5 separate regions of the Homo sapiens genome follow, and regions 2, 3, 4 and 5 are each linked to region 1. Evidence: promoter capture Hi-C in 16 types of primary human blood cells and fetal thymus (Javierre and others, 2016). All regions are on one chromosome and are shown on one strand. Each heading gives the region's core, a stretch centred on a gene start or on the middle of the fragment in contact. The rest is flanking DNA. Distances are from core to core; before and after follow the strand shown. Region 1 holds the start of PREPL (prolyl endopeptidase like). Region 2 holds the start of TRI-TAT2-1 (tRNA-Ile (anticodon TAT) 2-1). Region 3 overlaps LOC102724965 (a long non-coding RNA gene). Region 4 overlaps SRBD1 (S1 RNA binding domain 1). Region 5 overlaps SRBD1 (S1 RNA binding domain 1).

Region 1 (4,517 bases), core at 1,327-3,826:
CTATAATTTAGTGTTCTAGGAAATTTAGAAGGCCGAATTATACTTTGAAATGCACTGGCAGGCATACTAAGGAAGTCCTGAGGTGAATCATTTTTTATAAACCTACATTTTTATATATTACATTAGAGCCCTATAAATATATGTATACACTTTTTTTTTTTTTTTTTTTTTCAGACAGAGTCTCCCTGTCACCCAGGCTGGAGTGCTGTGGTGCGATCTCAGCTCACCGCAACCTCTGCCTCCTGGGTTCAAGAGATTCTCTGCCTCAGCCTCCCAAGTAGCTGGGATTACAGGTGGGTGCCATGACGCCTAGCTAACTTTTGTATTTTTAGTAGAGACAGGGTTTTACCATGTTGGCCAGGCTGGTCTCGAACTCCTGACCTCAGGTGATCTGCCTGCCTCGATGTATATACTCTTTTATACTTACTTTTGACTAGAGACAATTGAGACTTGAAAATTAGAAAAATCAAGTTAGAATTACTGAGAAAATTAGTAGCTCTGATATTCTACCCATTCTTTATTTTTAAATTAAAATTAATCTTAATGACCTACAAATAGGTTAACTTAAACAGTCCATACCTTACATGAGAAGCTCCGACTTGGGATGTTTCTTGCTAACTCTGATATCTTGGGTTTATTCTGAAGACACTTGGTTAGGTGATATTTTTTCAATTTTATTCTATTGTAACAATGATCAGCGAAGTTATAGTGATTCAAATGCTGTTTCTGCATGCATTTTCCAAGGTGAGGAATACTATACTTCAAAGCTTGGAGAAATAATTTGGTCTTCTGCTGCATGATATCAAAGTCCCTGGTTTATGCTCCTTTTGGGGCTGCCAGCACACGAATGATTTTATAGGTATGATTACAGAGTAGTGGGTTCTCAGAGTAACTAAGATCAGCAGTTCTCATCCCTCCTTTTCAGGGCCATGCCCCACTTAGGTTATGAATAACTTCAGACAGCTGATAACTTAGGCTAACTAAATCTAAAAACCTGTGTAAGTTAAAGTTTCATTCAAATCATAATTCTTGGCAGATGTGACTTAAATGTCTCATTTGTAAAGTTAATCCTATCAGGCTCAAACTATGCAGCACTGACTCTGGCACACATAGGGGTTAAACTAAAACAAAAAACAAAACAAGAAACAAAATATAAATTTGCAAATAAGTACACAGACTTAATGGGGTATCTCAGGAACTCAGGGCTGTAAAAGGTAAAAAGCCCTTTGGTCTTACATAATTATGAACGTATCTTTGGTATATATGTGGAAGATAAACTGGAAAAGCCTAATTATTTAATAAAGGTGGGGGAGGGAAGATTAATTATTGTTGAGTGTTAACTAACTGCCAGGTGCTTTTATCTTGTTTGTCTAATTTAAATTTTATATGGACTTAATAAAGTAGATATTACCATGCACATTTTACAGGTTGCCAAACTGTGGCTGTGGGAGGTTCTAAGCAACTGTTCCAGGTCACTTGTACAGTAAGCTGTATAGCAAAAAATCCAATTTGGTTCGGTTCCAAATACTGGACATACTCAACTTCGGATTTTTAATGTTAAAAAGGTATTTAGCGCTTTAATTAAAAACAACAAAAAACCCCTGCAAGATGCACAAATAAAATGTAAGGCCATCTCTGGTTTGTCAGGAGGTAGCTTTTATTAACCTTGATTGCTAATAAGTAGTTAAGAGTCAGAGAGACCTGGGTTGAGGTCTTAGCTCCTACACTTAACTGTGTCTCCGGGCCTCAGTTTCTTCATCTGCAAAAATGAAATGACACCATTTACCTTCTAGGGTTGTTGTTGTAAAGACAAAATGAGACAGCTTAACATTAAGACCATACAGTGCCTGGCACATAGTGACCACTCAATAAATGGCAGTTGCTATTATTTACGACAGGAATAATCTAGGTATGTTGCACACCGCTGAATGTCATTATGGAAGTCTTCCACAAAATGCCCCCTGGTATCAAAGGTAGAATGCTGCGTCAAATTTACCATAGATCAGATGCGCTACGACGCCCCCGCCCCCCTTAATCCCTTTCCATGTCGCAGCAAAATAATGGGCGATTGGGGGTAGGGGAGCAACACTAGTTTACTAGCCGACACTAGTAAAAAAAGGGGAAAAAAGACCCGAATAACAAGGACCTGCAAAGGTCCTACATCACCACGTTCCCACAGCCTTTATCCATCCATCTTTCATCCCCAAGAAGACAGTATGCAAGGCTAGGATGGGGGTGGGGTAGATAAATGGGTGTTCTCAGGAGAACCTATTCGTTTACCCCGTGCAACTCTCCACCCCAGGGATGAGGCGATCTGAATGCAACAGGGAGAGGGACCAGGTGACACGCACGCAGTGCCGGGACATTAGTCAAAAAGCGAGGACCTGGGGACTGAGGGGTGGGTGGCTGGGCGGGGGGAGAAAGGGGAGAAGGAAAGAGACCAGCACACCCCCCATACATACGCAAATTGAGAGAATCAGTCCGGCTCTGGACACAAACCAGTGAAGGCAGGCCGGAGAACCTGAAGCTCTCAGAGGGGAGCAGGTGTCACCGCAGGCAAGTCCAGCCGAAGTCTGCGTTCCGCAGCCCACAGAACGACAACTTACCCAGAGCCGCCTAGAGCTGGTTTGCAGCACGCCAATCTACGTAACCTCAATCTAGCACGAGCAACAGGCAGATTTCGCCATCTTTGTTGTGGTCAAGGAGTCTTCTTGGGTTCCTGGGTTCTTTAGTCTCGAAATATATAAGACTTTTCGTTCTTCGCTAGTCTTCTGAGCTCGAGATGAAGCACAGAAGGCTAAAACAATGAGGGACAGCGTTCCAGTAGCCCTGCCACAGCTCTCTCATCCTCTGGTCCGCCCTCACTCAAGATGGCTACCAGCAAGAATGGTGCAATGGCGTGACAGCTCGGCCCTGGTTGCCAAGGAGATGCGAGTACCGGAAATGCGGAATTCGGGGAGAGCGCGCATGCCTGGTCCGGTGGAGGGAGGGTGCCGGGCGTCACAGGTCCTGACAGGGAAGAAGTTGGCAGGTCCTGGCAGGGGACGAGCTGCGGCGGTGGCACCTCCGGGTGTGGAAGGCTCCAGTGAGATGGAGTCGCGAGTCGCGGACGCTGGGACCGGCGAGACCGCGCGAGCAGCGGGCGGGAGTCCGGCAGTTGGCTGCACCACTCGGGGGCCCGTAGTCTCGGCGCCCCTGGGAGCCGCCCGGTGGAAGCTCCTGCGGCAGGTAAGGGAGAACCTGCTCGCCTCACCTTTGCCTCTGGTCACTCCTCTCTCACGTACCGGGGGAGCGACTGTTCGCAGTTCTTTCCTCTTGGCAGCTCTGGGAGACCCTTCTCAGTTTGCCGGGAGCCACCTGCGAAGCTCCCCCTCGCTTCACCTAAGCGTCCCATCCAAGAGGAGGAATCATGTGGGGTTGGGTGGGGAGCGGGACAGCCAAGGCTGAGCTCCTGGGAAACTCAGATCGAAGTAGAAGAACCCCTTCTAGACATTTTTGTGCGTCTGGGGGACTTTTCCCCTTCTCGCCAGTCTCTGGTGCGCCCGCCGCTCCCCACTGCTCTTTTCCTGCTTCTGTTTTGCCTCCTTCCCCAGTTTCTTCTAGCTTAACTCCCAGCCTGGTTCGAGTTACCGATATTCGTCTGCACCCTCTGGCCCCGTCTTTTGCCCAGCGTGGTTGACTATGCCGGGACTGAGACACGGCATGCGTTCCCTCGGCATCTTCCGTACAGCGGAGCGTGCAAGGAGTAGGAAAAGCTGATACCCTCTCTCACTGAGGTCTCAAAGTTAAATGATTATCTTGTAGTTTGTAGTGATCAGCGAGATTCTCCGTGTCCAAGGTGGGCTAGTCAAAGTGTGTTCGTTTTTGAATGATGGTATCTTCTGGTACTTCAAAGTTTCTGCTGTTACTTACAACTCCACTCGTGCAAGCTTGACGGAAGTTCTGATTTATGATCACTCACATTCTTCGCTCACTTCTTGAAGTGAAGTCTGGTTATTGTTTTTGCATAGCAGTGTTATGCCTCTGCCTGAAGTTTTCTGCCGAAAACTTTACTCAGGAGGACATTTTTCCATTTCTGACAGTTGTGTTTGGAAAAGAGTTTCCCAGCTATTGCCACTTTACTTGAGATTGTGCTTTTAGTATTTTGGGGATCACTTTGTTTGCAGTTGCCTTGAGTCACCTTTTCATACAGTGGTCTTTTAGTGCTTTTAGAGTTATGAGTTAAGTAGATCATCAGAGTTAATTAAGATTTATTTGCTGATACATTGACAGTCTTTCCAGACCAGTAATGATCTGGTTTTGCTATTGTTACAAATGGTATTACAGGATAAGAAAATGCATGTCCTCACAGATCATCATAGGAAGTATCTATAATAAAGTAAATATCTAATTTTTTTTAATAGTGACCACTGAAATGAGATCTGGCGTGAGCTGGGGAGAGTGGACTCAACCCCCCTTCCCCCCTCCTTTTTTTTTGAAATGGAGTTTCCCTCTTGTTGCCCAGGCTGGACTGCAAT
Region 2 (4,517 bases), core at 1,021-3,520, 1.5 Mb before region 1:
CGCCGCGAACGCGCATGCTCTGCCGAGGCCCGCCGCGGGCGCCAGCGCACCCTGATAGAGCCATCACGAGGCCCATTCAGCAGAGCTCCAGTGGCGCAATCGGTTAGCGCGCGGTACTTATACAGCAGTACATGCAGAGCAATGCCGAGGTTGTGAGTTCGAGCCTCACCTGGAGCAAGACCCTTTTGGATGTTCGCAACCCCTTTTGTGTATCTCGTTGCCAGAAGTAAGGAGTCTCTCTTTAGTCTTCTCCCTTCTTGTTTCTAACTGCTCTGCCGCACGTCCCCATTGGCCGCAAGCAGGAAGCAGCTCGCAGTGGACTCTCAATACCCCTTTTCCGAGCTACTTGTTGCCACCGCGCGACATCCAGCCGCTCGAACTCGGACATCCACCCACTGCGTCCTTCTAGTGCTCTTCTTAGGCGGGTCCTGTAACTGCACCTAGTCCCGGACCACAGGAGGGCGGATGGAGGTGGCGAGGCGCTCCACTGTGGCGGGGTCCCTAGCTGGCCGTGGGGATCGAATATTCTACAGGGCACTTCATTCTACAGTGTGAGCCCGAGCTCCCGGTGCGGAGATGAGGCCTGGGGCCGGGCCGCTGCCCCTCGCCCCCGGGCGGGGCCCAAGCACCGCCGACCATTCCCAGGCGTTGGGGCCCGAGGCCTAGCGCGGGGCGTCCGGGGAGCTGTGGGGAGACCTGGGGCGGCTGTTTTCCGCCCTTGTAACTCGTGATGAGTTCTTCCCCCTCGCTTCTGTCTGCAGAGACCAATAAGACTGCGGGCCCTTCTCCTCAACCCAGGCGCCCAGCCGTCCCTGGGCAGATTTGCAGTTTGGGGAATGTGCTCGGAGAGTTCCCCTCCCCATCATGTGCCCCTTCTCCTAGCGGCACGTCACAAATCCTGGTTCAGAAGTCCTCCCGGGGGCCGGGAAATCAGGCCAAGTGGTCGCCGGCGGATGCGCCCTGCCCCACATCGCCAGGGGGGGTAGGCAAAGCGGGCACAAGCTTAGTTAAGGGATGGAAAGCCTCCTGGACGTGTTCTTTCAAAGGGGAGATTTTCAGCTGTTTTCATGGACGGGATCGTTGCTAGATTTTGGGTGGAAATATTACCCCGCGAGTGGTGAAAATCAAGACCTAGAACGTTCAGAGAAATGGATGGAGGGCGGAGCTCTTGTCTATCTCCTGCGCTAGCCCAGGCTTCGGTTGCTCTCACCCATCCAGCCCCTCGATGCAGAACAGGAACCCTATGCCAACTGGAATGTGGGAAGGGCCGCCCACTTCCCCTCGTCCTGGTGCCGGGTTCCTCGCCAGCCCCGGGGAGGTCGCCTCTGGCTCACAGACATCCTCAGAGGCATGGGATAGGTCCCCTGTAGAAATGCAGCCCAGGCTTAGAAACAAATAAAATCTCTATCCATTAAAAAAGAATAATAATAATAATAAAAAAATAGGCGCGGTGGCTCACGCCTGTAATCCCGGCTTGGGAGGCTAAGGTCGGCGGATTTTTTTTTTTTTTTAATCACCCAGGAGTTTAAGACCAGCCTGGCCATCAGGGCGAAACCCCGTATCTACTAAAAATACAAAAATTAGCCGGGTGTGGTGGCGCATACCTGTAATCCCAGCTACTCGGGAGGCTGAGGTGAGAGGATCTCTTGGATTCGAGAGGCCGAGGTTGTAGTGAGCTGAGATGGCACCACTGCTCCAGCCTGGGCCAGACCTGTCTAAAAAAACAAAACAAAACAAAACAAAACAAAAAAAACTTGCGGCTGAGCGTGGTGGCTCACGCCTGTAATCCCAGCACTTTGGGAGGCCAAGGCGGGCGGATCACGAGGTCAGGAGACCATCCTGGCTAGCACTGTGAAACCCCGCCTCTACTAAAAATACAAAAAATTAGCCGGCTGTGGTGGCGTGCGCCTGTAATCCCAGCTACTCGGGAGGCTGAGGCAGGAGAATTGCTTGAACCTGGGAGGCGGAAATTGCAGTGAGCCGAGATCGCGCCACTGCACTCCAGCCTGGGCGACACAGCGAGACTCCGTCTCAAAAAAAAAAAAAAAAAAAAAAAAAAAGTATGCTTACTTTCTATAAAAAAAAAAACAAAAAACCCAACAGCTTTAATGGGATATAATTCCTATACCATACAACTCGCCCATTTTACAGTGTACAATGGATTTTAGTATATTCACAGATAAGTACAATCATCACCACAGTAAATTTTCAAACATTTTCATCACCTCAAGACTAGTTCTCACCCTCTCATCTTCCCATCCTGTTCCCCCACCAGCCCTAAGCAACCACAAATCCACTTTTTGTCTCTGTAGATTTCCCTAGTCTGGACTTTCCTACGAATGGAATTATACAGCATGTGGTCTTTTGTAATTGGCTTTTTCACTTTATAATGTTTTCAATATTCATCCATATTGTACCATATATCAGTGCTTCATTTCTTTTTATGACTGTATGACAGTCCATTGTATGGATTCTTTCCATTTTTGAATAATGGAGAAAGGGTTGGCATTTTCAAAAGGAAATTTGCCAAAAACTGCTTTGTAAGAGGTGATTAATTTTAAAATGCACAAACAGAAAAGTGATCAGACTCAGAAAGTGCAGGTTTCTAATCTTCACAGGTAACTCACTGACCACCAGGAGTCTCTTAGGTACTTCTGAGAGCTGAGCTCAAAGCAAGATCCCAAACAGACAACAATAAATGAATGAGAGATCATTCTGTCAACCTCCTATCCACAGAGAAATCCTTTCCACAAAACCCTAGCTCCTATTTGAAAACTGCTAGCATCAGAATTTCAGTTCCTCTCAAGGCAACTTATTCCATTTTCCAACAACTCTTATGGTTAGAACATTCTTCAATATTGTTTCTGTCCCTACTGGTTACTGCTGGAATGGCAGTGGCTTTAGGAACTGTTTTCCTGATAAGATGGTAGGGTTGGAAGGAAGCTAAACTAGTTCTTCTTTCCTTAATTTAGAAATCTTCAGCTACGAAATTATTGATTAGGCCATAAACAACAAACATACTCTGAGCCTATTTGTGGCCCAGTGTCTTAAAGTGATGTTGATAGAATTTTTTAAGGTTGTGGTGGGTGATAAAAATCAAGTGAGGCAGGGCATGGTGGCTCACACCGTAATTCCAACACTTTGGGAGGCTGAGGCAGAAGGATTGTTTGAGCCCAGGAGTTCCAGACCAGCCTGGGCAACATGGTGAAACCCTGTCTCTACAAAAAATACAAAAATTAACCCAGTGTGATGAGGCACGCCTGTAGTCTCAGCTACTTGGGAGGCTGAGGTGGGAGGCTCACCTGAGCCCAAGAGGTCGAGGCAGCAGTGAGCTGAGATTGCACCACTGCACTCCAGCCTGAGTGACTCTGTCTCAATTAAAAAAAAAAAAATCAAGTCAGAATATGGGAAAATGCTTTAAAAACCACAAAGTATTATGACATTTTTATTAGCATCAGACCACTGGCTTAGGCCTGACTATACTGTGTAGTGGCTTCAAGAAGGAAGTGGGTAAGTATGAAGTGACCAAACTGCGAAGGAAGCTTGAAGTGACAACTGAACAACCCCAGGCCCCAGCAGGAGAGAAACCTGATGTAACCCAGGCTGACCTTGGCTTTGTAGAATGCTTGGATGAAGAAGGGCTCATCAGAGCTAGGGGTGACACAGCCTGAAAGGAGTGCAGATTCAGTAGAATTTAGAAGAAGAGTGGAGCCAATCTGGAGGCAAATGTTTCTGACAAATGATAAGATGCAATTTTCATAGAGATAATTGTAAGTCTATGTTCAGTTCAAAGTTCCATGTGTGAGGATGCCTGGCTTGACAGCTGTTTGCATGTAAAAGATCTGGGGATTTCAGATGTGTGCAACCTCGGTTGTGCCAGCAGTGTGACCCAACTGCTAAGAATGTCAACTGATTATTAATGCATTACTATATAATGCATTAGATGCTGTGGTGTCAGGGATCACAAACCAGCCATCTATGGAACAAATCTAGCCTGCAGACAGATTTTGTTTGGCCTTCCAGCACTAACTTGCAAAGTGCTGACATTAAAAAAAAAAAATCATTTGCCTCCATATTGGGAGATTTCACAGAAATGCCGAGATTTTCAGTTTCTAATGAAAAGTCAGGACTGGGTGTGGTGCCTCACGCCTGTAATCCCAGCACTTTGGGAGGCTGAGGCGGGTGGATCACCTGAGGTCAGGAGTTCAAGACCAGCCTGGCCAACATGGCGAAATCCCACCTCTACTAAAAATACAAAAATTCGCCATGCCTGTAGTCCCAGCTACTCGGGGGGCTGAGGCAGGAGAATCTCTTGAACCTGAGAGGCGGAGGTTGCAGTGAGCCAAGATCACACCACTGTATTCCAGCCTGGGAGACAGAGTGAGACCTTGTCTAAAAAAAAAAAAGCCGGGCCATCTGGGGCCCTTATTCCTATATGGCAAGACTGACTGCCCATCTTGGATGTGTATGTGGCTTTCGGTTTGCCACGGTCCCTGTCACTCTCCATTATTCTCCAA
Region 3 (4,517 bases), core at 684-3,183, 1.3 Mb after region 1:
TAATTGACATGATTATCATTAAATAGTGCTGCCTTGGTTCCGGCATGGCAATGTAGAAAGAACAGTCAATGTATAAGGTATAAGATTTGGGTCTAGACCTCTAGGTAGTGTTTTGGGGTTTTTTTTTCTGTTTTTTTTTTTTTTTTTTTTTTTGGCAAGTCAGTTAACTTCTCTAGGTATCAGTTTCCTCATTTAATAGAGGAATTTAATAACAATAAAGAATATAGTCTGGGCGCAGTGTCTCATGCCTGTAATCCCAGCACTTTGGGAGGCTGAGACAGGTGGATCACTTGAGGTCAGGAGTTTGAGACCAGCCTGGCCAATATGGTGAAACCCTGTCTGTACTAAAAAAAAATACAAAAATTAGCTGGGCATGGTGGTGTGTGCCTATAATCTCAGTTACTTAGGAGGCTGAGGCAGGAGAATTGCTTGAATCTGGGAGGTTGAGGTTGCAGCAGTGAGACGAGATTGTGTGCCACCGCACTGCAGCCTGGGTGACAAAGCAAGACTCCATTTCAAAAACTTAATTAATTAATTAAACAAACCAAGTGATCCCTCAAATCCCACAGAGTTTAACAAGTAAGTCTTCTCAGTTCTGTTGGGCCCAAATGCCTCCTTTGTGCTGCCGTGGTTCTAAAGTGGCTTTAAGGAACTGCACGTCCCATGAGGTGTTAAGCATATAACGGGGAGGGGAAAGGAGCTTGGATGGCTGCTGGTTCTGATATTAGGCAGGATTCTCCATGTCATCTGGAGTCTTCTGTATGCAGTGGCCCAGAGCAAAAGGGAGGGAGGACGGTCAAACAGTCTGACTCTTACTGTGATTATTGCTACCCTAAGTTCCTATAGTGCTTTCTGAGTGGGCTGATTATTTGTTATTTATTGTGTGCCACCTTGAATTACCTTTCTGCACCTGTCATTTGAGAATAGTGTCTATGGCAGTCTTCAGTGCTATTCACCAAACATTCCATGCTCCTTGACAGTACAGATGGTAGAACTTCCCAGACCCTGTGGTTGGGGAAGGCGGGATCTGAGACTGGTTCTAGCTAACAATTAGTGGGCACAAATGATATTTAGCACTTCCAGATGGATTTTTTTGGGTGGGGGGCAGGTGGGGGACAGGGTCTGGCTCTGTTGCCTAGGCTGAAGTGCAGTGTCACAATCTTGGCTCACTGCAGCCTCCTCAAGCAATTCTCCCACCTCAGCCTCCCAGGTAGCAGGGATTACAGGCACCCGTCACCATGCTCAGCTATGTTTTTTTAATTTAATTTAATTTTATTTTATTTTGTAGAGATGAGGTTTTGCTACCCAGGGCCTCCCAAAATGCTGGGATTACAGGCATGAGCCACCAGGTGGACTATTTAATTGCCTGTGTAAGACCCTCCAGACATCCTTTTTCTCTCTGCCCATGACCAGCCATGTTCCAGATGGTAACTTTTTAGCCAGCCTGGATCCAGAAGTGAGAATGACGCTAATGGGAAGCAGAGCTCCCAACCAACCTGCCATAGACTTACAGCATGCATGAGAAGAAAGCTTTGTTCTTTTAAGGTGTTGGGATCTGGGGAGAGCTTATTACAGCAGCATGACCTAGCCAATCCTGACTAATAAAGGGCCATTTTGTGTTGTCATTTTTTGTTTCCCTAGTGCTCCAAATGACATGACATGACACTACTGACTGTTAAATAAAGGACCGACTGAATTGATCTACTCATCTCCCCAGGTAGAGTAGGGATTATCCATATAGCTATTTATCCTCCCTGGAGCACCTGCCCTAGTATCCTATATATAGCAAGTACTTAGTAAAGACCCTTGGATTGACATATGATCTTAAAAGTCCAAGACAGGGGCCAGGCACGGTGGCTCACACTTGTAATCCCAGCACTTTGGGAGGCTGATGCAGGAGGACCACTAGAGTCCAGGAGTTCAAGACCAGCTTGAGCAACATAGTGAGACCCCATCTCTACAAAAACAATCAAAAAACTTTAGCTGGGCATGGTGGCACATGGCTTTAGTCCCAGCCACTCAGGAGGCTGAGGTGGGAGAATTGCTCAAGTCTGGGAGGCCAAGGCTGCAGTGAACTGTGATTGTGTCACTGTACTCCAGCCTGGTCAACAGAGTGAGACTCTGTCCCTTATAAAAAAAAAATCCCAAGACACAACCCAACATCTGACCCACAGAAGATGAAGAATGTTATGCTATTCTCCAAATGGCATCCTAGTGAGTAGGGCTCACAGTCACAGGCCCTGAGGAATAGGGGCACCAGGCCATCTCCTTCTGCATCCATCAGCAAGCTCGATAGGGCTGCCTCTGATCCCTCCACCTCTTTGCAGGTATTAAGTGAAGCTTGGCCTGAGTCACTGCAACAGAATATAGAGCAGAGATGGGGCCAGAATTCGGAGCTGAGATGGGGCCAAAATAAGAAGACATGGCAGGGCAGACAAAAGCCCACCACAGGAGTATAGGTGTGGGGCAAAGTTTGAAGTGGGGCTCAGGGTCGGGTGGGGGCTAGGCTGGGGCAGGACCAGCGGAGCTCTAGAAGGTTTCTGTGTCATTATACTGCTGCGCGTTCCATCCCATGGCCCAGGTGGTTGGATTCTGTTCAGCGGAGCATGTGTGGAATGTATGATAGACCCTGACCAGGCAGACCTTTGCAGAAGCCCATTAACATTCTATAAATGGCAACAACCAGCACAGCAACAGGGACATGAATATTAACGCGCTAGTCTACGGTTCTGGCTCCCCCTTCCCCGCTTCCTCCAGCTGATCTAAACAGTATCCACAGACAGTTTCAATTTTGATTATACAGAGTGTAAATCATCTTCAGACTTGGATCTTCTCTTTGTCTAATACCCTGTTTTGAGGTGAGCCTTCTGGAGGAAAATTACAGAAGAGAAAAATATTTATCCATCACAAAATCGCCTTTGTAAAGTATTAACTCTAGTTATGCTGCTTGCCCGCTGGAATGTTTGGTGTCTCTCCAGGAAAAAGTTGAGACCCATCTGCAGGCCCTCTGAGGTCTTAACTATCAGGTTCCTACTTACTTCATCTCCTGTTACTACCTGCCACAAGTGGGGCACACCTGGCCGCTTACCTGAAGAGTCATGGCTTTCCTACCTGTACACATTATACTTTTTGCAGCCAGTACCCTTCCCTTCCCTCTTTGCTGCTGGAAGAACTCCTGTTGGAAAGCCTAGACTCAGCTCAAAGGATTCTGCTGGTTGATGCCTTCCCAGGCTCCCCAGGCAAAGGGGTGATCCTTCTTCTGTGCCACTCCCATCCATAGACCTATTGCAACACTGATCGCCCTGTCCTGGCCACATCTGTTGTTCTATTCTTTTCTCATAAGCCTTAATTTTGAAAGGAGAAAGGCTCCATTTTGGTCATCTTTGTTAAATTATTGTATCATTTTCTTCCTTCTCACAAAGATTATGAAATAACTAGGCCATAGTTGGAATCCAAAGGTCATTTTACTCAATGTATATGCTAACCACTGTCTTATCCTTTGGGATTGGAGACAGGGGCTGAGGGAAGGATGAAGCTGGCAATAATTTCCTATTGGAATTTTACCGTCTAAGCCCCCTCCTTGGGATTTTCTTTTCACATGAAACCTGGAGCAGGGGGTTATTTTGGACCTGGCATCTCCATGATGTCCCTGGGGAATTCAACTTTTCATTTGGCCAAGTTTGAGAGTAGGAAGGCGAGAGATTTATTTAGAAATAAGGAGGTAATAAGGGCAGGAAACTAGCAGTGTTTGCATGCAGACTACCAGCATTCTCCCTTTTTATGTAAACATTAATCCAATACAAAACATGTATTTTGTTTGACAAAGTCTTTTATTACCCTTGCTCCAAAAGAGTTGCTGTAATGGAAAGGAGACAAGCATTGGTCGCCCTTGAGAATTGCAGTCTGGTGATTTACACGGAGTAACAGTCTGCTGAGCCAGCATGCTAGGAAATGGTGCTGGAAGTTTGTAGGTTGTTTTAAGACAGTCACTGAGATGGTAACAGACCCTATTTAATATATTTGGGGGCTGGGCATGGTGGCTCCTGCCTGTACAAGACTTACCCAAAGCAAGTAATGAGAACATATGAAGCACCAATTAGTCAAGGATCCCTAACTCCATGAAATCCTTGACTTTCCAGACTTCCCAACAGGATCAGGACTAGGGTGAGATGAGTGACGCACTCGGCTCAGGTACAAAATTTAACAGGTGCCAATAAACTCAGTAGTATAAATATTTTAGTGCAATATTTAAAATTATTTAAAATGTGGATATTGTGTCCATTCTGGATTCTCACATTTTTATTTTTAAAAAATTGTATTAAATCTTTATCTTGATTACGTTTATTGGTACCCTTTACATTTTGCCTCTGAAAAGTATCTCACTCATCTCACTTTGGTGCTGGCTCTGCTTCCCAAATGCATTTTCAGAAGATCAAGCCATATTTGCCACTGCCTTCCATCACATGCCCTGGAAAGGGGGAAAGAGGCTTCATGAGAATAGCAGAGTGGAAGGAAGA
Region 4 (4,517 bases), core at 792-3,291, 1.2 Mb after region 1:
TTCTTTTTTTTTTTTTTTTTTTTTTTTTTTGAGATGGAGTCTTGCCCTGTAGCCCAGGCTGGAGTGCAGTGGCACGATCTCAGCTCACTGCAACCTCCTACTCCCGGGTTCAAGCAATTCTCCGCCTCAGCCACCTGAGTAGCTGGGATTACAGGCACCCGCCACCACGCCCAGCTAATTTTTGTATTTTTAGTAGAGACGGGGTTTCACCATCTTGGCCAGGCTGGTCTTGAACTCCTGACATCGTGATCAGCCCACCTCGGCCTCCCAAAGTGCTGGGATTACAGGCTTGAGCCACCGCGCCCAGCCAATTCTTCTACTTCTTAATCCACTCACTCTCCAACCCACCATCATCTGGCTTCTCTTCTCACATACCTTGCAGGAAATGATATCACAAAAATCCATGATGATCTCCTAATTACCAAATATATATATTTTTTTCAGTCTTCATTCTGCCAAACTTCTCTGCTACACATAACTGCTGATCATGACCTCCATCTAAAACTCTCTTCCCTGCTGTTCCAGGGCACCATCATCTCCTGATTCTCCTCATACTTCTCTATTTTTTTCCTACCTCCTTATGCTCTCACATCCTCCATCCACACTTCAAAAGGTGGTAACCTCCAGTGGTCAATCCTGACCTGCTAACAAACACTTCTTGAGTTCTTCCATTCTCATGGTTTCACGTACCAACTACAGGCTGAAGACATCCACATCTGGATCTCTAGTTCAGCCCTCTCTGATAAGCTTCACGTTTGTATAATCTACTGTCCTTCCCTACTTGACTGGAAATTCCTTGAGACAAAGACTATGTATTTATTCATCTTTGTAAACCCAAGTGCCTAGCACAAAAAAAACACTCTATAAATATTTATTGAATAAAGAATAAATATTTTGTTGCATTAAATAATGGTGGCTAATGACGTTAGCTTTTTATTTCTTGGTGTTCTTTAATCATAAGAAGACCCAAATTGCAATATATTCAGGTATTACATTAAAAGATAAAAAGGATTCCTTACCACGTGTTCTAGTTCTTCAAAAGTTTTACAATTCAGCATGGCTTTTAACAAGCACTCAGACATCTTCCCTTCCTTCTTAATTTTCTGGATTGTACTATGAACTTTCTTTGCAACAGCCCTGAAAAGAGAAACTTTTGTAATATACCAAAACTGTATGTCAAAACTTTCTTTTCAAAGCTACCTCAAACTTACAGAAAAGTTGCAGGTAAAGTAAAAGGAACTTTATTGTCTCTGAACTGTTTGAGAATAAGTTAACATCCCTGCACTCCAACACTTTAGTGTGATTTCCTACAAATACAAATCTTCTACATAACCACAAAATAACCATCATTATCAGGTAATTAACACTAATATATTACTACCATCTAATGCAGAGCTCATTCAGGTTTTACCAACTGTCCCAATAATATCCTTTATAGTGGATTCAGTTAAGAATTATGGGTTACATGTAGTTGGCATGCAACTACAGTCTCCTTCAAGCTAAAACAATATTTTAGTCTCTCCTTGATTTTCTTCTCCTTGATAAGGCCTTGATGTTTTTGAACGCTACTGGACAGTTATTTTGTAGAATGTCCTGCAGCTTGGGTTTCTCTGATGTTTCCTCACAATTAAATACCGATGGAGCATCTTTGGCAGAAATATCATAGAAGTCATACTGTGTTCTTACTACACGTTATTAGGTGACAAATGATTTTGATTTGTCTCATTACTAATTAACTTTGATCATTTGATTAAGGTAGTATCTGTGGGTTTCTCCAAGACACAGGTACTCTTTATTCCTCTTGTAATTATAAGTATTTTGTGGAGAGGTACTTTGAGACTATATAATTATCCCATTCCTCATTAAACTTTGAATTTATTCACTGATTTATTTATATCACTATAGATTTAATGGTTTTTTATTTTACTTAGTGCTACAATCCATTGCTATCATTTATCTTAATGTTCAAATTTTTCCAGATTTGGCCAAAAGTAACCCCTTCAAGCTAGCTTCTGTGTCCTTTTGACATGTATCTGTCATTCTGCGAGCACTTCCTTATTCTCTGGCATATGATATTTCAGGCTTATCTTCTAGTTTCCCTGCCCCAGCCCTGGAATCAGAAGAATGATACTTAAAAACCAAGGTATAGGTACTAGATATGCTCATTGCTACTGGAGTATCACTGCTCAGGATGGGCACACCTAGCACCCATAATTGGTTTCCAAATACCATTCCCCACTAAAAAGAACCAGGATTCCATGTAGAAAAGTTGATTCCAGGAATCAATTTACAGGGATCACTAAACAACTAACGACAAAAGGAAGGGTGGGCACAGTAGTTCCCCCACTTTACAACAGGTTTTCACTGTGAATATACAATCCTGTTGTTACAGTTAATGCTTCTCATCCTATTGTATTACCTCCTATTTATAGAATCTGCCTAATAATGGTATTGCTAAAATGATGGGCAAAAGTTAGAGATGATAATATGATTTATTCAAAATGATCGATGGAAAAGAAAATTAAATCTACTTGTAAATTAAAAAAAAAAAACTAAAGGCAGAAGACTATAAATTAAAGAGAAGAATATAAATTAAAAAGAAGAATATGCAGTACTTAGATTACAACCTGTATGTCTTCTATAGTCATGGTAGCCCAAGACTGTTTTCAAGGGCTAAAGCCTACCAGGTCATTTTAACAAAAAGCCAATTCCTTTTGTCCTATTAGCCTGCATATAAGGAAGAAGAGAATTATCTTTAGAGAAAAATACAGAAAACTTTTCTTACTATCCAGAATCATACTCTTTAATTCACTTTTCAACAGTGAATTTAAAAATGTTTTACGTTGCAACCCAGTATACATACATATAGATGCTACATAATTGAAACATTTCATGAAACAATATTTGCCTTTACCACATAAATGTACTCTTGTATTTTCTATTCACTATTTCATTTTTTAAGTGGTATGACTTATTAAATTGGTTTTACTTCTCATGTAGGGGTAGCAATTAACAAATTGAAAATCAATGCTCTAGTTATAGAAAATGCTGAGCTCAAGAAAAAATAAAGATCATATCTCATTACCAGAAAGAAATTTCTGTATTATAGAAAAAGATCTCTTAAGTTCCAGTCAATGCCCCCACTTACTTCAAGGAATATTCACTCCTCTACTAATATTCAATGTATTCCCCTATTCATAGAAACCCAGAGAATGGAATTCTTTTGCAATAGAAGGGTTTTTTAAAGAAAAAGAAAATAATAATATTCTTGATATACAGCTCCTATTTGTCTCCCATACAACCAAATATTGTTAGACTACCCTTTAATTTTTTAAGCAAGCTTTTCTTGCTTGTGAGGCTTTCTCCAATTTCAGATCCAAAACCCTCAGACTTTCTTAATTACCTTGCCTTCAACCAAACAGAAAGCTTACTTCAGAATTTGCAAACTGCTGGCCTTCTAGGTGTGGTCAAGAGTGGTTTTGTTTGGCCTAGAAATTTGTTACGTAAAAACTCAAATTACCAGCTTCTTTTCAGAAACAGGAAGAACCAGCAAACTGGGCAGACAACCCTGCATGACAGTAATCTACTGGAGACGAGCAAGGGTTGCCCCTCTTAGACAGGGTTTGTAATCTCCAATTCTTATTCCCCATGCTTGATTATCCTAGCCTGGCTCTGGAACATTTGCATCTGAGACTATTTGATTTAGTCATTTATATTTTTACATTGGCAAATTGATTCTGCCTCTCAATGAAGTATAACTTTCCACATATTAGCACTTTAATTCTCCTGACACTAAAAGAACGTCAAGAGGTAGAAAAGTGAGATGCAAGTTCCCCCAAAATAACAGAAAGCTTGTCAAGCTTGTTATAAAAATTACCCTTAATACTTTTAAAATGGCTTCATAGTAGAATGATAATCCAATTTTAATCAGATCTTTTTTGTACACTTGAAGAATGTACACATTAACACAGTGCCCATGGGAGACATGCAATAAATGCATAAGCAGTGAAGTGTTTTAATAAACCCTATCGAATAATATGGTCAGTCTTGTAGTCTTTGTACACATATTTCTCAGTTATTAGCAGTGAGTCCAGAGGCATAATTTTTTTAAAAAGGTACTTTCCATTCTGTAACCATACAAAACTTACAATCCACTATTGTTAAATTACCATAACCATTAAAAGTATGGGAAAAAGGCTGGGCATGGTGGCTCAAGCCTATCATCTCAGCACTTTGGGAGGCCAAGGCGGGTGGATCACTTAAGGCCAAGAGTTCAAAATCAGCCTGGCCAACATGGCAAAACCCTGTCTCTACTAAAAATACAAAATTAGTGGGGCGTGGTGGCGCATTCCTGTAATCTCAGCTACTCGGGAGGCTGAGGCAGGAGAGTCGCCTGAGCCTGGGATACAGAGATTGTAGTGAGCTGAGATTGCACCACTGCACTTCAGCCCAGGCGACAGAGCAAGACTCTGTCTCCGAAAAAAAAAAAAGATGGGAAAAGGAAATATACATATTTC
Region 5 (4,517 bases), core at 1,116-3,615, 1.2 Mb after region 1:
TAAAACAGTTCTTCTCCACAGAGATAATCACTATCAAAAATTCCTCACACACCCTCCTGGATATTCTCTGTTTAAATATGCATGACACACATACTTATTTTATTATTTTTTTTAATTCAAAAAGGACACTACATACCTTGTCTGTTATTGGTGGGTTTTTTGTTTGTTTGTTTGTTTTCTTGAGATGGAGTCTTGCTCTGTCGCCCAGGCTGGAGTGCAGTGGTGTGATCTCGGCTCACTGCAACCTCAGCCTCTTGGGTTCAAGCAATTCTCTGCCTCAGCCTCCTAAGTAGCGGGGATTACAGGTGTGCACCACCATGCCCAGCTAATTTTTTGTTTTTGTATTTTCAGTAGAGACAGGGTTTCACCATCTTGGCCAGGCTCATATTGAACTCCTGACCTCGCGATCCACCCCCCTCAGCCTCCGAAAGTGCTGGGATTACAGGCGTGAGCCACCGCGCCCGGCCTGTCACTGGCTTTTTAAAAATGTTCACGTAATAGACATCTTTACATATCAGTACATATAGATATCGGTATCATATTTTAGAAAAGAAACAAAGAAAATTCTGTAAATATCTGTAAACAGACCTGTTTTGGATGCACCACCTACAGAATTCATCCTTCACTCCATCAGAAATATTGACCTTAACCGTCAGTACCTTCAAATTTTCTCCACGGTTAATTGCCAGAATCTGAGTGCAAACATAAGGCAAAGACTAATAATCCACAAAATATATGAAACAAATCAGGCGACTATGTAGCTGACAGCTATATGAATTTTTTACTCGTTTATTAAACAAGAATACATTTTAAAATAATCATTTACTTACACTTTTTTCAAGTAACATACCTCCCACATAAGGAAAACCCTAACATGCTCTTAGAAAATAAAATGCAGATACAAAGCCTATCTAACACATTTACAAGAAGAGACTTTGATGATCTAAAAATCTCATTTCAGATTCTACTAATTGAAAATTTTTGATTATCTGGAGTTGGAAGGGTATACTTTTTATAATTTGAAAAGATAACCTGTGCTAAGATAAATACAAACATGTAAAATCCTAGGTGCAATATTTAGTAGCTACAAATTGTTACCATCCATTGAGCATTACTAATTGTAGAGCCTATCTAAGCACTTTAAATATATTATCTCAAGTAATCCTTAGAGTCACCAGTAATGTGTGTATTATCTTCACTTTATATAATAATTTTTCTGAAACTAACTTGTTGCAAATCACAAAGCTAGCAAGTAGCAAAAAAAGAATTTAAACTTCAGATCAATCTGTCCATGCTCTTAATTAAAATATTAAAAGAACGACTGTCTTAAAACACATTAAAAACACTCCTTAAAGTATAAACAAAACCAAAACAAGCAGAAGAAAATAATAAATAATAGGGTAAAAATAAAATAGAGAATAGAAAAGCAATAAATATCAACAAAACCATAAGTTGGTTCTTTGAAGATATCAACAAAATTAACAGACCTTTCGCTAGACTAATCAAGAAAAACAACAGGAAACACTCAAACACCAAGATCAGGAACAAAAGAGAGGCCACTACTAAGGACCTTATAGAAATAAAAAAGATTATAAGAGATACCATGAGCAACTGTATGACAAATTAGATAACTAAGATAAAATGGACAAATTCCTAAAAGATACAAACTACCAAAAACAAACCAAAAAGAAACAGAAAATCTGAACACACCTATAAAAAGTATGGACACTGAATTAGTAATTTGAAAATTTCCCACAAATAAATGTCCAGGCCCAGATGGCACCACCATTGAATTCTACCAAACATTCTAAAAAGAATCAATATCCATTCTTCACAAACTTTCCAAAAGATATTAGAGAAGGAAAAACTTCACATATATTTCTATGAGGCCAGTATTACTCTGATACAAAAACCAGACAAGACTTCACAAGAAAACTACAAACCAATATCTCTTATGAATATAGATGTAAAAATCCTCAATAAAGTAATAGCAAACCACATCCAGAAATATATAAGAAGGATTATACACCAAGATCAACTAGAATCAATTCCAGGAATGCCCGGTTGATTTAACATCTAAAAAATCAATTAACCTAACACATTATATCAATAGAATAAATAACAAAAATCCTATGATCATCTCAATAGATGTGGAAAAACATCTGACAAAATCAGGTAGCCCTTCATGATAAAAAACACTCAAAAAACTTGGAAATATAAGGAAAGTTCTTTAATATGAGAAAGGGCTTGTGCACAGAAATCTCACAGCTAACATCATATTTACTGGTCAAAGACCAGGAACAAGACAAGCGTGTCCACTCTCACAACATTGTACTGAAGGTTCTAGCCAGGGAAAAGAAGGGAGGCCATCTATATTGGAAAGGAAGATGTAAAACTTTCTCTATTTGCAGCTAACATGATCTTATATATAGAAAATTCTAAGCAATCCACTACAAAACTATTAGAACTAATAAAGAGTTCAGCAAAGTTGCAGAACACAAGCTCAACAAATAAAATTAATTTATACATACTAGCAATAAACATTCTGAAAATAATTTTTTTTAATTCCATTTATGATACCACCAAAAGGAATAAAATACTTAGGAATAAATTTAACAAAAAAAGTTCACAACTTACACGGTTGACCTTTGAACAATACAGGTTTAAACTGCATGTGTTGACTTACACGTGGATTTTTTTCAACCAAACAGGGATTGAAAATACAGTAATTGCAGGATCTGAAACCCACGCATAAGGAGAGCTGATTTTTCATATACATGGGTTCTGCAGGGCCAACTCTGGGACTTGCATATACATAGATTTGGGTATATGCAGGGATCCTGGAATCAATCTCCTGTATATACCAAGGAACAACTGTACTATGAAAACTACAAAACATTGTTGAAAGAAATTAAAGAAGATCTAAATAAATACCCATGAACATCCCATGTTCAGGGATCAGAGGGCCTAATATTGCTAAGATGGCAACACTCCCCAAGTTGATTTACAAATTCAGTGAAATCCCTATCAAATCCCAATTGGCATGTTTTGTGGAAACTGGTGAACTAATTTTAAAACACATATAGTAATTCAAAGGACTGAGAATAGCCAAGTCAATTTTTAAAAATCAAAATAAACTTGGAAGATTCCCACTTCCCAATTTCAAAACTGACTACAAAGCCACAGTTATCAAGACAGTGGGGACTGGCATAAGGATAGACATACAATGGAATAGAATCGGAGTCCAGAAATAAACTTATACATATAGTGTCAACTGATTTTCAACAAGGGTACCAAGATAATTCAATGAAGAAAATCCAATCTTTTCAATAAATCATGAATAACTAGAACTCACCACATGCAAAAGAACAAAAGTGGACGGACCCCTACTTCACGCTATACATAAAAATTAACTCAAAATTGATCTTAGACCTTAATACAAGAACTAAAACTATAAAATTTCCATTAAAAAAGGAGAAAATTTTTATGACCTCAAGTCATAAAGCCTTCTTAGATATAACACCAAAAGTGTAATCAATAACAAAAAACTAGATTGAACTTCAACAAATTTTAGTTTTTGTGCCTCAAAGAATAGTATCAAGAAAGTGAAAAGAAAATGCACGGCATGGGACAAAAATTTTTGCAAATCATATGTCACATAAGGGTATCTAGAATATATTTAAAACTCCTACAGCTCAACAATAAGGAGACAAAACCCAATTTATTCATTTATTTATTTTCTTAAGAGATGGGGTTTCACCATGTTGGCCAGGCTGGTCTCGAACTCCTGACCTCAGGCGATCCGCCTGCCTCAACCTCCCAAAGTGCTTGGATTATAGGCGTGAGCCATCGCGCCTGGCCACAACCCAATTTAAAATGTACAAAAGATCTGAAGAGGTATTTGTTCAAAAATTATATACAAATGACTGATAAGTACATGAATAGATGCTCAGCATCATTAGAGAAATGCAAATCAAAACACAAAAAGATGGACAATAAATGTTGGGAGGGATGTAGAGAAATCGGAACCTTCACAAACCGCTGGTGAGAATGTAAAAATGGCATAGCCACTCTGGAAAATATGGCAGTTCCTCAAAAGGTTAAATGTAAAGCTACCATATAACACAGCAATTATACTCCTAGGTATATATCCAAGAGAAATAAAAACATATGTCCACACAAAAACTTAGACACGAATGTTCATAGCATTATTCATAATATCCAAAAAGTAGAAACAACCAAACTATTCACTGACTGATGAATGGATAAGTAAAATGTGGAGAATCCATATAATGTAATATTACGTAGCAATAAAAAGGAAAGGCATACTAATACATACCATAACAGACAAACTCTGAAACCATTATGCTAAGTGAAAGAAACCAGCGGCAAAAGTCTGCATATTGTATGATTCCTTTATATGAAATGACCAGAACAGACAAATCTATAGAGATAGAAAGTTGGCTGCCTAGAGCTTGATGCAAGGAAATATTTGGGAGAAAAATGTCCTAAAATTG

The links. The method cuts DNA at HindIII sites, captures the fragments that hold promoters and counts their contacts. A CHiCAGO score of 5 or more calls a contact.
Region 2: a fragment that was not itself captured here is called in contact with the fragment with the promoter of PREPL in region 1 in 5 of 17 cell types (activated CD4 T cells, non-activated CD4 T cells, total CD8 T cells and 2 more); the score reaches 8.9 in activated CD4 T cells.
Region 3: a fragment that was not itself captured here is called in contact with the fragment with the promoter of PREPL in region 1 in 1 of 17 cell types (neutrophils); the score reaches 9.1 in neutrophils.
Region 4: a contact is called between a fragment that was not itself captured here and the fragment with the promoter of PREPL in region 1, in 1 of 17 cell types (monocytes). The highest score is 6.2, in monocytes.
Region 5: a fragment that was not itself captured here is called in contact with the fragment with the promoter of PREPL in region 1 in 7 of 17 cell types (naive CD4 T cells, monocytes, activated CD4 T cells and 4 more); the score reaches 10.5 in naive CD4 T cells.

The regions. Positions count from the first base shown.
Region 1 is chr2:44,358,918-44,363,434 of GRCh38, forward strand. It overlaps PREPL (prolyl endopeptidase like), which reads right to left and starts at 2,577. Exons shown (of 14, transcript NM_001171613.2): 1 at 2,463-2,577. CAMKMT (calmodulin-lysine N-methyltransferase) reads left to right here and starts at 3,030. Exons shown (of 11, transcript NM_024766.5): 1 at 3,030-3,228. The coding sequence starts at 3,091. RefSeq lists enhancers at 1,949-2,843, 2,220-3,419, 2,656-3,125, 2,844-3,737. The HindIII fragment of the contact is 3,162 bases long and covers 766-3,927 here.
Region 2 is chr2:42,810,452-42,814,968 of GRCh38, forward strand. It overlaps TRI-TAT2-1 (tRNA-Ile (anticodon TAT) 2-1), which reads left to right and starts at 85; the gene lies at 85-177. RefSeq lists silencers at 1-158, 449-738 and enhancers at 819-918, 949-1,028. The HindIII fragment of the contact is 2,540 bases long and covers 1,001-3,540 here.
Region 3 is chr2:45,644,916-45,649,432 of GRCh38, forward strand. It overlaps LOC102724965 (a long non-coding RNA gene), which reads right to left. Exons shown (of 2, transcript XR_005647119.2): 2 at 3,812-4,468. Among named protein-coding and RNA genes, the nearest start is that of PRKCE, 4.5 kb to the right of the region's middle. The HindIII fragment of the contact is 810 bases long and covers 1,529-2,338 here.
Region 4 is chr2:45,580,674-45,585,190 of GRCh38, forward strand. SRBD1 (S1 RNA binding domain 1) reads right to left here. Exons shown (of 21, transcript NM_018079.5): 6 at 1,020-1,137. Among named protein-coding and RNA genes, the nearest start is that of SRBD1, 28 kb to the right of the region's middle. The HindIII fragment of the contact is 2,593 bases long and covers 746-3,338 here.
Region 5 is chr2:45,562,065-45,566,581 of GRCh38, forward strand. SRBD1 (S1 RNA binding domain 1) reads right to left here. Exons shown (of 21, transcript NM_018079.5): 10 at 589-692. Among named protein-coding and RNA genes, the nearest start is that of SRBD1, 47 kb to the right of the region's middle. The HindIII fragment of the contact is 5,234 bases long and covers 1-4,517 here.